Linked DNA regions of Homo sapiens: region 1 is linked to region 2. Evidence: promoter capture Hi-C in 16 types of primary human blood cells and fetal thymus (Javierre and others, 2016). All regions are on one chromosome and are shown on one strand. The core of a region is centred on a gene start or on the middle of the fragment in contact, and the rest is flanking DNA. Distances in the headings are between cores, read along the strand shown.

Region 1 (5,465 bases), core at 2,626-5,125, 1.1 Mb after region 2:
CAAAGTGCAGCCTCTATATCTTGAACTCCACACCTCAAACCCAGATTGTCCACATGTGAGCACCTGTCTTTTTGGTTTGCTGTTTCTCTCGTGAGTTGTATCCAGTTGCCCAAGGTGGAAAGTTGGGCGTCATCCAGCAGGTAAGTCCTGACACCTCCACCTCCCCGATGGCTTCAGAAGCCAGCCTCTTCTTTTCTGTTTCCTCTGCCTCTCAACTTCCTCATCCATCTACCATAAGCCAGAAAAATGACCCCCAAATGTGAATCCGATGGTGTTCTTTCTGCCTGACATCTTTCTTTGGCTTCTGCTGTGGGGTAAAGTCCAAGCCCCTTGGTTCCCTGTCTTTCCTCTCTGGTCTAATCTTCTATTCCTCTCATCCTGTACTTTGCCCTTCATCAACTCTGAACTGTTTATAGTTCTCTGAACATAGCCCGAGTGATTCACACATTTGCATGTACTGTTCCTCTCCTGCTGTGATAAAGGGACAGTCACCTAATCCCCGCCCCTCCGTTGCATTTTTTTTTTCCTACAAGATTTATTATGCACCTACTGTGTGTATGGCTCTGGGATGCTGTAATAAGCAAGACAGACACATCTTTCCCTTCACGGGGCGTATGTGTCTCGTGCATACTGGGAGGGCAGGGACAGGGTCTCCATTCATTTCTGCATTCCAATGCCAAGAGGGTGTCAGATCTGGGTGGGTCGAGGTAGGGAACAGGTAAACATAACTCACAGTGTGATGCCGTGTTACAGCCAGGCTGGGTTCCTCACGCCTGTGATGGCAGCGCTTTGGGGAGCCAAAGTGGGAGGATTGCTTGAAGCCAGGAGTTTGAGACCAGCCTAGGCAACATAGAGAGACCCGCTCTCAAAAAAAAAAAAAAAAAAAAAAGCTGTCGCAGTGGCACTCTCCTGTAGTCCTAGCTCCTTGGGAGGCTGAAGCGGAAGGATCACTTGAGCCCAGGAGTCCTAGACTGCAGTGAGCTATGATGGCTCCATTGCACTCCAGCCTGGGCCACAGAGTAAGACCCTGTTTCAAACAAACAAACAAATTTAAAAAATCAAACAAACTCCCACTCCCCCAAACTCCATACCACACCCTCTCCTGGTCTCTCTGGGAGACCTGGATTCGAGTTCTGGCAGAGCTGGTTATTGGCAAAGTAGCCCCTCTATGCCTCGGTTTCTCCAATTCTAATGGTGATGATTGCTTGAATAATTGAGTTAATATGACCTCATTGATGGATTGGACCGTGTGTGCTGCAAACAGATTACACACTTTAAAGTGTATTCATGCCTGTAATCCCAACACTTTGGTAGACTGAGGCAAGAGGATCACTTGAGGCCAGGAGTTCTAAACCAGCCTGGGCAACGAGTCCCCATGTCTACAAAAAAATAGAAAAAATTAGCCAGGCATAGTGATGCACGCCTGTAGTCCCAGCTACTCGGGAGGCTGAGGTGGGAGGATGGCTTGAGCCCAGGAGTTTGAGGCTGCAGTGGGCGATGATCACACCACTGCACTCCAGCCTGAGGCGACAGAGTGAGACCCCCCCCCCAAAAAAAGTGTATTTATGGGGGTGAATGTTAAATGAGAATGTCCACTCGCTGCCTTGGTTTACTGGAACTGCAAATTCAATGGGGACACACAAGTTTTCAAATGCATGCGGAATACTGGCTGGAGGTTACCCCAAAAACGTAGCCTGTGGATTTTAAGAATGTATTTATGAGTATGGTTCTCGTTTTCTGGGTGAGTGGTGGGTGAGAATAGAGGGTGCACTGGCCCGGCGAGTTCGGAGATGCGGACCCTCCCCCCCTGCAATGTGAGGAATTTTGCTGTGTGACCCTAGTGAGCCGCTGCACCTTTCTGGACCCCTCCCGAGGGAGGCCTGGGGTCAGGGGGCCCCTCGGCAGTCCCGGGAGCTGCCACGCGGTGACCCGATCTCCTCCCGGGCACACGCCCAGCGCCGCGCGCAGCCTAAGCCACCCCGGTGGATGCTTGATGAGCCCTTGCAAGCTCGGTTTCTCCTTTTCCCTAGCTTTTTCCAAAGTTCCATCCGTGGCAGACTCGACCTGCGGGGTCTGCAGCCACGAGGGGCCCTCCCAGGGCGCCCTTTCCTCTGGCCGGGACCGCCCGGCGGCGGCCACTGCCCGAGCGCCAGTCTGGGGAGCGGAGCCCGGCGCACCCGGGGGGCGGGGCCAGCGCCCCTGCAGCACGCCCGCCCATTGGCTGAGCGCGAGGGCGGCGCTGCGGCCGCCGCAACCGCCGGGGCCGGATTCCCCGGAGCGGAGTGCGCCCCGGGCTTTGTGCTGCGCTGAGGCCTCCGGCTCGAGGGGGCGGAGCCTTGAGCGCCTAGGGCTCCCTCCCTCGCCCCCATGGGCACACACGCAGACACGGGCACACACGCAGACACACACACACGCCCATCATGGACACACACACACGCTCGCCCACCATGGACACACACACACTCCCACCATGGGGACACACACACACTCCCACCATGGGGACACACACACACACACACACACACACACACTCTCACTCTGGAACCGACCAATCCTGGGGCTGCACAGACACACACGCGCACACACTCTCTCTCGTTCTCTCTCTCTCTCTCTCGTTCTCTCTCTCTCTCGCTCTCTCTCCCACTCTGGAACCGACCAATCCTGGGGACACACACACACACACACACACACTCCCACTCTGGAACCTGCCAATCACACACACACACACACTCCCACTCTGGAACCTGCCAAACACACACACACACTCCCACTCTGGAACCTGCCAAACACACACACACACTCCCACTCTGGAACCTGCCAAACACACACACACTCCCACTCTGGAATCTGACACACACACACACACACACACCCAAACACACACACTCCCACTCTGGAACCTGACACACACACACACACACACACACACACACCCCCACTCCCACTCTGGAACCTGCCAATCCTGGGGCTGCTCTAGCGAGGAGACCCCTGGGACCCCGCCTCCTTCCGGGCCTCTGCGTGCGCAGTATATCTCCTAAGAGATCCGCAGCATGGAGAGGGCCCGCCCCCGTGGACGGACTCACTCCCTCCCCACTCACTCACTCACTCGCTTACTCACTCACTCACTCTCTCTCCGAAGAGAAGAAGCCTGCGGCTCCCGAAGCGGGAAGGCCCTCTGGTACTCTGTTCCCTTTCTAGCCTCTATATGCGCCGTATGTCTCCAAAGAGCTGCGCAGTTCTATTCCAAAGGCGTCATCGCGTGTGGGGCGGTATTGTCAGGCAAGGAAAAGGGGCGCTTCCCCGCTTCAAGGACACGCGCTCCTGCGGTCGTCGCTGCTGACCACGAAGCTGTCAAAAGTTCACCTCCTTGGCTGCCCCCAACCCCTGCCCCTTTGCCATTAAATCATTTACTAGATTCCAACTAGAGGAATTTGGCTCCGGGGACTCGAACCTCTGAGGTCAGGGTCTGGGGCCAGTGTGGGAGAGAAAGGCCTTGAATGGAAACAAAATAAATTACTTTAAGGAGTTTATAAAACTCACACTTATAGGGAGAGCCGCGGGGCCCTGTGGTCAATGTACCAGCAGGCCCATGACGCAACTGTTCCGTTTGGAAATTTCTGGAAAGCAGTAATTTTTGGAATCATAAATCTTGAGTATTTTTTTTTTAAACTTTGGAAAGGTTTTTAAACTTTTTTTTTTTAAGTTTTTTTTAAACTTCGGAAAGTTTTAAGCTTTGGAAAGAATGTAACAAAATGTTATTAACATATGTGGAGCTATCGAATCATTTAATGGTGGTTTCTGTATTTTCTGTTTTGTTTTTTATCACATACCTTCTTAATTAAGAAAAACCCAAACTAATTTGAACTTTAAAAGGGAGGCAAACAAAAAAGTGTCAGAGTGACTGGATTTTTGTGCGCAAGTCATTTAACAATGCAGCGCTGCGTCTCCTATTTCTCTGGCTTTTAACCTTGCTTTGGACAAATTGGTCGCTTTTTGTTTTGATGTCGTTTCAAGCTTACGGAAAAATTGCAAGATTATATCTAGATCAATCAATTGTTTACGTTTTATTCTACTTGTTTTATTACCTTTCTAATATATTTATGCACACACATTATATACATTTTTTTCCCCTGAACTATTTGAGAGTTAGTTGCAGGCATGATACATACTCCTTAATTCTTCAGTGGATATTTCCTAAGAACAAGAAAGTTCTGAGGCCAGGCGTGGTGGCTCATGCCTGTAATCCCAGCACTTTGGGAAGCTGAGGCGGGCGGATCACCTGAGGTCAGGAGTTCGAGACCAGCCTGACCAACTTGGAGAAGCCCCGTCTCTACTAAAAATACAAAATTAGCCAGGCGTGGTGGCACATGCCTGTAATCCCAGCTACTCGGGAGGCTGAGGCAGGAGGTTCGCTTGAACCTGGGAGGCAGAGGTTGCAGTGAGCCGAGATGGTGCCATTGCACTCCAGCCTGGGCAACAAGAGCGAAACTCCGTCTCAAACAAAAAAAAAAAAAAAAAGAAAGAAAAGAAAGAAAGTTCTCTTACATAATGATGGTACTGGTGCCGTTGTCAAAATCAGGAAATTAACATTGATACAGTATTTTAATCCAATGTCTTCTATAATCTTATCTGTTGTCTCAATATTGCCCTATATAGATTTTTTTTCCTAGGCGAAGGTTCCAATCTAGGATCACACTTTGCATTTGAATGCTGCTGTCTCTTAAGTCCGCACAATTCCTCAGTTTTCTGTGTCTTTCCCAACATTGGCTTTTATTTATTTATTTATTTATTTATTTTTATTTTTTTTTGAGGCGGAGTCTTACTCTGTCACCCAGGCTAGAGTGCAGTGGTGAGATCTTGGCTGACTGCAACCTCTGTCTCCTGGGTTCAAGTGATTCTCCTGCCTCAGCCCCCAAGTAGCCGGGATTACAGGCATGCGCCACCACACCCAGCTAATTTTTGTGTTTTTAGTAGAGAAAGGGTTTCACCATGTTGGCCAGGCTGGTCTCGAACTCCTGATCTCCAGTGATCTTCCTGCCTCAGCCTCCCAAAGTGCTGGGATTACACGTGTTAGCCACCACACCTGGCCAACATTGGCAGTTTTGAAGAGCACAGGCCAGTTATTTTATCGAATGACCTCAAGCTAGGGTTAGTAATATATGGAAAGAAAGCTACACAAATATTTTGTCTTTTTCATTGCCTCATAATGGGAAGTACGTGTTGTTGCCTTGTCCCACTATTGTGGGCAATGTTACTTGAAGTATTTTTAACTAGAATTTTTAAGAAGAAATACATTTCCCGTAAGGCTCAGTACCCAAGACATGCATATACCTGAATGAAAAGTTTCCCACAACAAGATTTACTCTTGCCATTTTCTAGTACTGTGGGATTTTTTCCTTTTCTTTTCCCCCTGCAGGAGGGGATGCTGCTGGGGGCTGAGGACAATGCTAAACCTGGATGTCTCG
Region 2 (5,319 bases), core at 1,018-3,517:
TCTGCCTCAGCCTCTCAAGTAGTTGGGACTACAGGCACGTGCTACCATGCCCAGCTAATTTTTTTTTTTCATTTGAAGACAAGAGTCTCGTTCTGTCACCCAGGCTGGAGTGCAGCGGCACAATCTCAGTTCACTGCAACCTCCACCTCCCAGGTTCAAGAAATTCTCCTGCCTCAGCCTCCCAAGTAGCTGGGATTACAACAGCTGTGAGCCATCGCGCCTGGCACAACTTACAATTTTTTGACTTCATGATAGCATAAAAGCAATGTGTGCTTAGTAAAAACCACACTTCAGCAGAGTATTCAATAAATTACATAAGACATTCAATACTTTATTAAAACAGGCTTCGTGTTAGACGAGTTTCCCCAACTACAGGCTAAGGCGTTCTGAACAAGCTTAAGATGGACCATGCTAAGCTGTGATGTTTGGGAGATTAGGTGTATTAAACACATTTCAACTTGCAATACTTTCAACCTATGATGTACTCACCGGAATGTAACCCATTGTAAACTGAGGAACACCTGTACTCACCCCACTGGAAGGGATGTGGGAGGAAGGTCAAGCGCCTCTTCCAGGTCAGAAGGGGCAGAGGTTGGATACAAACCAGGCAGCCTGGGTCCATGGTAAAAGAACCTCCACTAAGTGAGGCTGGGGCTGAATCCCACGTTTCCTGCCTCAAGGAGATTGCAGCAGGCCCCCCTCTTTTCCCCTCTCTCCAGAGCGAGTCACCCCCTGGCTCCCAGACAGCCACACCTGGTGAAGGAGAATGCGGTGACAATGGAGAGAACCCCCAGGTTCAGTAAGCTGCCTCGTCTGGCTCACTACACCTAGCTGTGGGGAGATCTCCTCGTCAGTCACCTCAGCCTTTGGCGCACAGAAGGGTCCAGGGTCCCCTGCTCAGAGGCTAACACTGGCCGAAGAGAAAGGCAATTTCAGTTGGGGTGACTGTGGCAGGAAGGGGCTCACTCTGGCCCCACCAAGGTGAGGTGGGGACCAAGTGATAGAGCCCTGATCCACCCACTCTCTGAAACTTCTTTGCTAATAAAACATTCCTACTACGCTTGTGTTTTGTTTGGGGTAGAGGGTGCAATCGACAAACACGACCCCCCGCCTCAAAAAGGAAAAGCTTCGTTTGGCAAGACCGCACGGCCAGGATTTCCAGAGTGCGGAGGATCGGTGACCGCCTGGGAGCCACTCAAGAAACCTGGAGAAACCCTAGTCGTATAACCCAGACAAGAACCTGAGTTAACTTGAAACACAAACGCTTTATTTAAAGGAGCATCTCAGTTACGTGTGGCGGACAAAAAAAAGGAGCAGACTGTGACAGACCATTCCCATCGGCCAAGTGGTCGAACCCGACATCCAAGACCCTGTAAACAGACCCAAACATGAGATGTTGACAGGCCCCGCAGCAATTGGCAAACTCCCGCCTCCCTCTTGTCAGTCTCTGTATGTAGACTCTGCCTCCCAAACCCTCTCACCCTGGGCTTAACGAAGCCTCCCTACCACCAACCAAAGGTCTATCAAAGGGGTGTCCTCTTTGCACCCACCAGCGAGCAGCCAAGCTCAGCGCAACCTCCGGGCTTCTCGCTCTGACTCCAAAAGGGTGAGCACGTCGCCCTCGCGCACGGGGCCTTTTACATTGCGGATGATGGATCGGCTCGTGTCGTCCATGAATTCCACGCGCACCTACGGGTCCCCACCGGAGTGGAGGAAGAAGTAAGGGCGGGCCGCGGAAAGGCACCGCGGAGTGGGAAGCAGATATGAATTCAGAGAACGTGTCGGGGCCAGAATACAGATCGTTAAAGGGAACCATCAGAACCCCGTGATGAAATGAGAATCGGCTCCCGGATTCCGGCTGGCAGGGGTTAGGGCAGGGTAGAGGTCACATCAGGGTTTAGGTCGCCGGCAGTCGGCCAAATGCCCCCACCCGATTACCTGCGTGCACTGTCCCTGAGAACCGGTCCTGCCCAGGACCTTGGTGACCTGGAGGAAAGAAGCTGGGTTCAGACCCGGCCCGTTTGGCTCCTCTAATCCCTCCCCCTGCCCCCAAATTCGGGCCCCCACCTCACCCTGGCCAGCTTGATAGGCTGCACACGGCTGGTGTCCATGATGGCGGCGCGGCGGCGGTCTGGCGGAGAGGAGTCACGTGCTTCGGGGAGAGCCTTTATAGGACGTTCTAGCACCGCCCACTCCCGTCTCGCGATACCACGCCGCGTCTTTCCCAGCAGCCCCAGCGGTGGAGACGTCACCGGCTGCGCCCTTCAGTATCGCGGACGGAAGATGGCGTCCGCCACCCGTCTCATCCAGCGGCTGCGGAACTGGGCGTCCGGGGTGCGCGGGGCGGACAGGGCTGCACCATGGGGGGCTTCGGGCTCCGTGTGTCCGGGACCCGCTCCTGCTCCTCACCTCCCTCCTAAGCCGGGACCCTTCGCTCTCCCCGAATCTCCCTGGGAACCCCCAGCTAGTCACCCCTTCAGCCCGGGACCCTCTCCTGGCCTGGGAACCACTCAGGCCTGGGATTTCCCCAGTCCCCGACCTTCTTAGCCTTGGATCTGTGGGCCCGGACTCTGGCTTTGCTCTTCACCTGCAGGACCCACATCCGTTTCCCCGAGTGTTCATCCCCTGCCTTCCCTTAAAATGCGCATCCCCGGACCATCCCTGGTCCCTTGCCCTCTCCTTTCCTCTCTCCTGGGGTGCCTTGCAGGCCGACCTCTCCTCTCCTCTTCCCACAGCATGACCTGCAGGGGAAGCTGCAGCTACGCTACCAGGAGATCTCCAAGCGGTGAGCAGGCCCCGCTCGCTGCCCAGCCTCTGGCTCTGTCCTTTCTCCACCAAAAACGAAATCTGTGTTCCTTTAGACCCCTGAAACGGAGGGCTGACATCCTGCCACCAGTCCCCTGCCAGGCTGTGGAGGCAGAGGTTTGCCTTTAACCTTGCTGAACTCCGGAGGACAGCCCTCCTGAAACAGCGAGGCCGGGCGTGCATTCTGACTGGCAATCAGGCTAGATTTGCAGTGCTCAGCGTGGCCATGTTAGTCAGTGTTATCCCCAAGCTACAGATGAAAAAAGAGGTCCAGAGAGGCGAAATCATTTGCCTCAAGTCACTCAGAAGCTAAAAAGTGGCAGCGGGGACTTGAACCCAGAAGTGTCCTGATTTCAGACTCATTTATATTAAAATATTAGTTGATATTTACAAGCCCCCGTCATGTATGACCTCAGCCTTGGGTTTAACTTTGTGAACCAGGAAAGTTCTTATCCACATTCTTTCATGGACGCCACATTCTAGGGAGAAGCATAGTAGGGAAACAAACACAGCAGGTAGTATTGTTCTGGAATGCTTTGAAGACAAAACAAAATAAGTGGAAGCTGGAGGGTGGCTACGTAAAGTCAGATGATTGGGAAAGATCTTTCTTTGGAAATTGACAGTTGAGTCCCCTGAATGATGGGAAGGACCCATTCAAAGAATAATTATTGAAAAAACATTCTGACCGGGCGCGGTGGCTCACGCTTGTGATCCCAGCACTTGGGGAGGCTGAGGCAGGCGGATCACGAGGTCAGGAGTTTGAGACCAGCCTGGCCAACACAGTGAAACACAGTAAAACCCCCTCTCTACTAGAAATACAAAAATTAGCCGGGCGTGGTGGCGCGCGCGGGTAGTCCCAGCTACTCGGGAGGTTGAGGCAGGAGAATCGCTTGAACACAGGAGGTGGATATTGCAGTGAGCTGAGATCGCACCACTGCACTCCAGCCTGGGTGACAGAACAACACTCTGTCTCAAAAAAATAAAAAAGAAAAAACATTCTGAGCAGAGGGAACAGGAAGGGCTAAGAGTGTCAGGCTGGACAGAGCCTGAGTGGAAGGAGGCCAGTATGGATGGAACCCATTGAGGGAAAGGGATAATGGTATAATCTATGAAGTCAAAGGGTAGGCAGAGGTAAGGCAGTCATTGAGGATTATAATGAAAGGAAGAAAAATAGCATTAAAATAATGAAATTTATGTAAATGCCTATATGTTGTGACTAATTCCAAATATTAGAAGTATCAAACTTTGTTTTCAACTTTTTTTTTTTTTTTTTTTTGAGACGGAGTTTTGCTCTTATTGCCCAGGCTGGAGTGCAATGGCACAATCTCAGCTCACTGCAATCTCCATCTCCCGGGTTCAAGCGATTCTCCTGCCTCAGCCTCCCAAGTAGCTGGGATTACAGGCATGTGCCACCACGCCTGACTAATTTTTTGTATTTTTAGTAGAAACGGGGTTTCACCATGTTGGCCAGTCTGGTCTCGAACTCCTGACTTCATAATCCGCCTGCCTCGGCCTCCCAAAGTGCTGGGATTACAGGTGTGAGCCACTGCGCCCGGCTTGTTTTCAACTTTAACGTTAAGTTCTGGGGTACATTTGCAGTTTTGTTACAAAGGTAAACGTGCCATGGTAGTTTGCTGCAAAGATCAAAGATCAACCTATCACTTAGGTATTAAGCCCAGCATCCATTAGCTATTCTTCCTGATGCTCTCTCCCCCCCAACCCCCGACCCCCCTAGTTGGCTTTCTATCAGGGTAGTTGTGGGCCAGTTGAGGAAATGGCTTTGTGAAAGTTTTGACTTTTTTAGGATGACGGCACCCTCTAGTGATTCATCTGGATGTTTTATTGGTCTTTTTTTTTTTTTCTTTTTTGAGACAGAGTCTCACTCTGTCGCCAAGCTGGAGTGCAGTGGCGGATCTGAGATCACTGCAATCTCCGCCTCCCGGGTTCAAGTGATTCTCCTGCCTCAGCCTCCCGAGTAGCTGGGGCTACAGGCGTGCACCACCACACCCAGCTAATTTTTGTATTTTTAGTAGTGACGGGGTTTCACCATGTTTGCCAGGATGGTCTGATCTCTTGACCTCGTGATCTGCCCGCCTCGGCCTCCCAAAGTGCTGGGATTACAGGTGTGAGCCACCGCGCCTGGCCTTTTTTTTTTTTTTTTTTTTTTTTTTTTGTAAGACTGGGTTTCTGTGACCCAGGCTGGAGTGCAGTGGCACAATCATAGCTCACTGCAGCCTCGAACTTCCAGGCCTAAGTGATCCTCCTGGTCCAGCGTACCAAGTAGCTGGGATTACAGGCACATGTTACCGTGCCTGGCTAATTTTTAAATTTTTGTATAGAGACAAGGTCTTACCATGTTGCCCAAGCTGGTCTTAAACTCCTGGCCTCTGACTGGGCATGGTGGCTCATGCCTGTAATCCCAGCACTTTGGGAGGCCGAGGCAGGCGGATCACAAGGTCAGAAGTTTGAGACCAGCCTGGCCAACATAGTGAAAACCCATCTCTACTAAAAATA

Evidence for each region. Contacts are between HindIII fragments. The CHiCAGO score rates a contact against its expected background, and 5 or more counts as called.
Region 1: a fragment that was not itself captured here is called in contact with the fragment with the promoter of NDUFA7 in region 2 in 1 of 17 cell types (total B cells); the score reaches 7.0 in total B cells.

What each region holds. Positions count from the first base shown.
Region 1 is chr19:7,194,985-7,200,449 of GRCh38, reverse strand. The region is part of intron 2 of INSR (insulin receptor); the gene reads left to right. LOC124904626 (a long non-coding RNA gene) reads right to left here and starts at 866. Exons shown (of 2, transcript XR_007067111.1): 1 at 734-866. RefSeq lists a silencer at 1,805-2,434 and enhancers at 2,266-3,102, 2,915-3,114. The HindIII fragment of the contact is 283 bases long and covers 3,734-4,016 here.
Region 2 is chr19:8,318,323-8,323,641 of GRCh38, reverse strand. NDUFA7 (NADH:ubiquinone oxidoreductase subunit A7) reads left to right here and starts at 2,267. Exons shown (of 4, transcript NM_005001.5): 1 at 2,267-2,334; 2 at 2,736-2,785. The coding sequence starts at 2,284. It overlaps RPS28 (ribosomal protein S28), which reads right to left and starts at 2,146. Exons shown (of 4, transcript NM_001031.5): 1 at 2,073-2,146; 2 at 1,939-1,986; 3 at 1,551-1,689; 4 at 302-1,370. The coding sequence starts at 2,111. The coding sequence ends at 1,567. KANK3 (KN motif and ankyrin repeat domains 3) reads left to right here. Exons shown (of 11, transcript NM_198471.3): 11 at 720-1,058. The coding sequence ends at 803. RefSeq lists enhancers at 278-1,243, 1,244-2,211, 2,118-2,357, 2,212-3,179, 3,180-4,147. The HindIII fragment of the contact is 9,773 bases long and covers 1,129-5,319 here.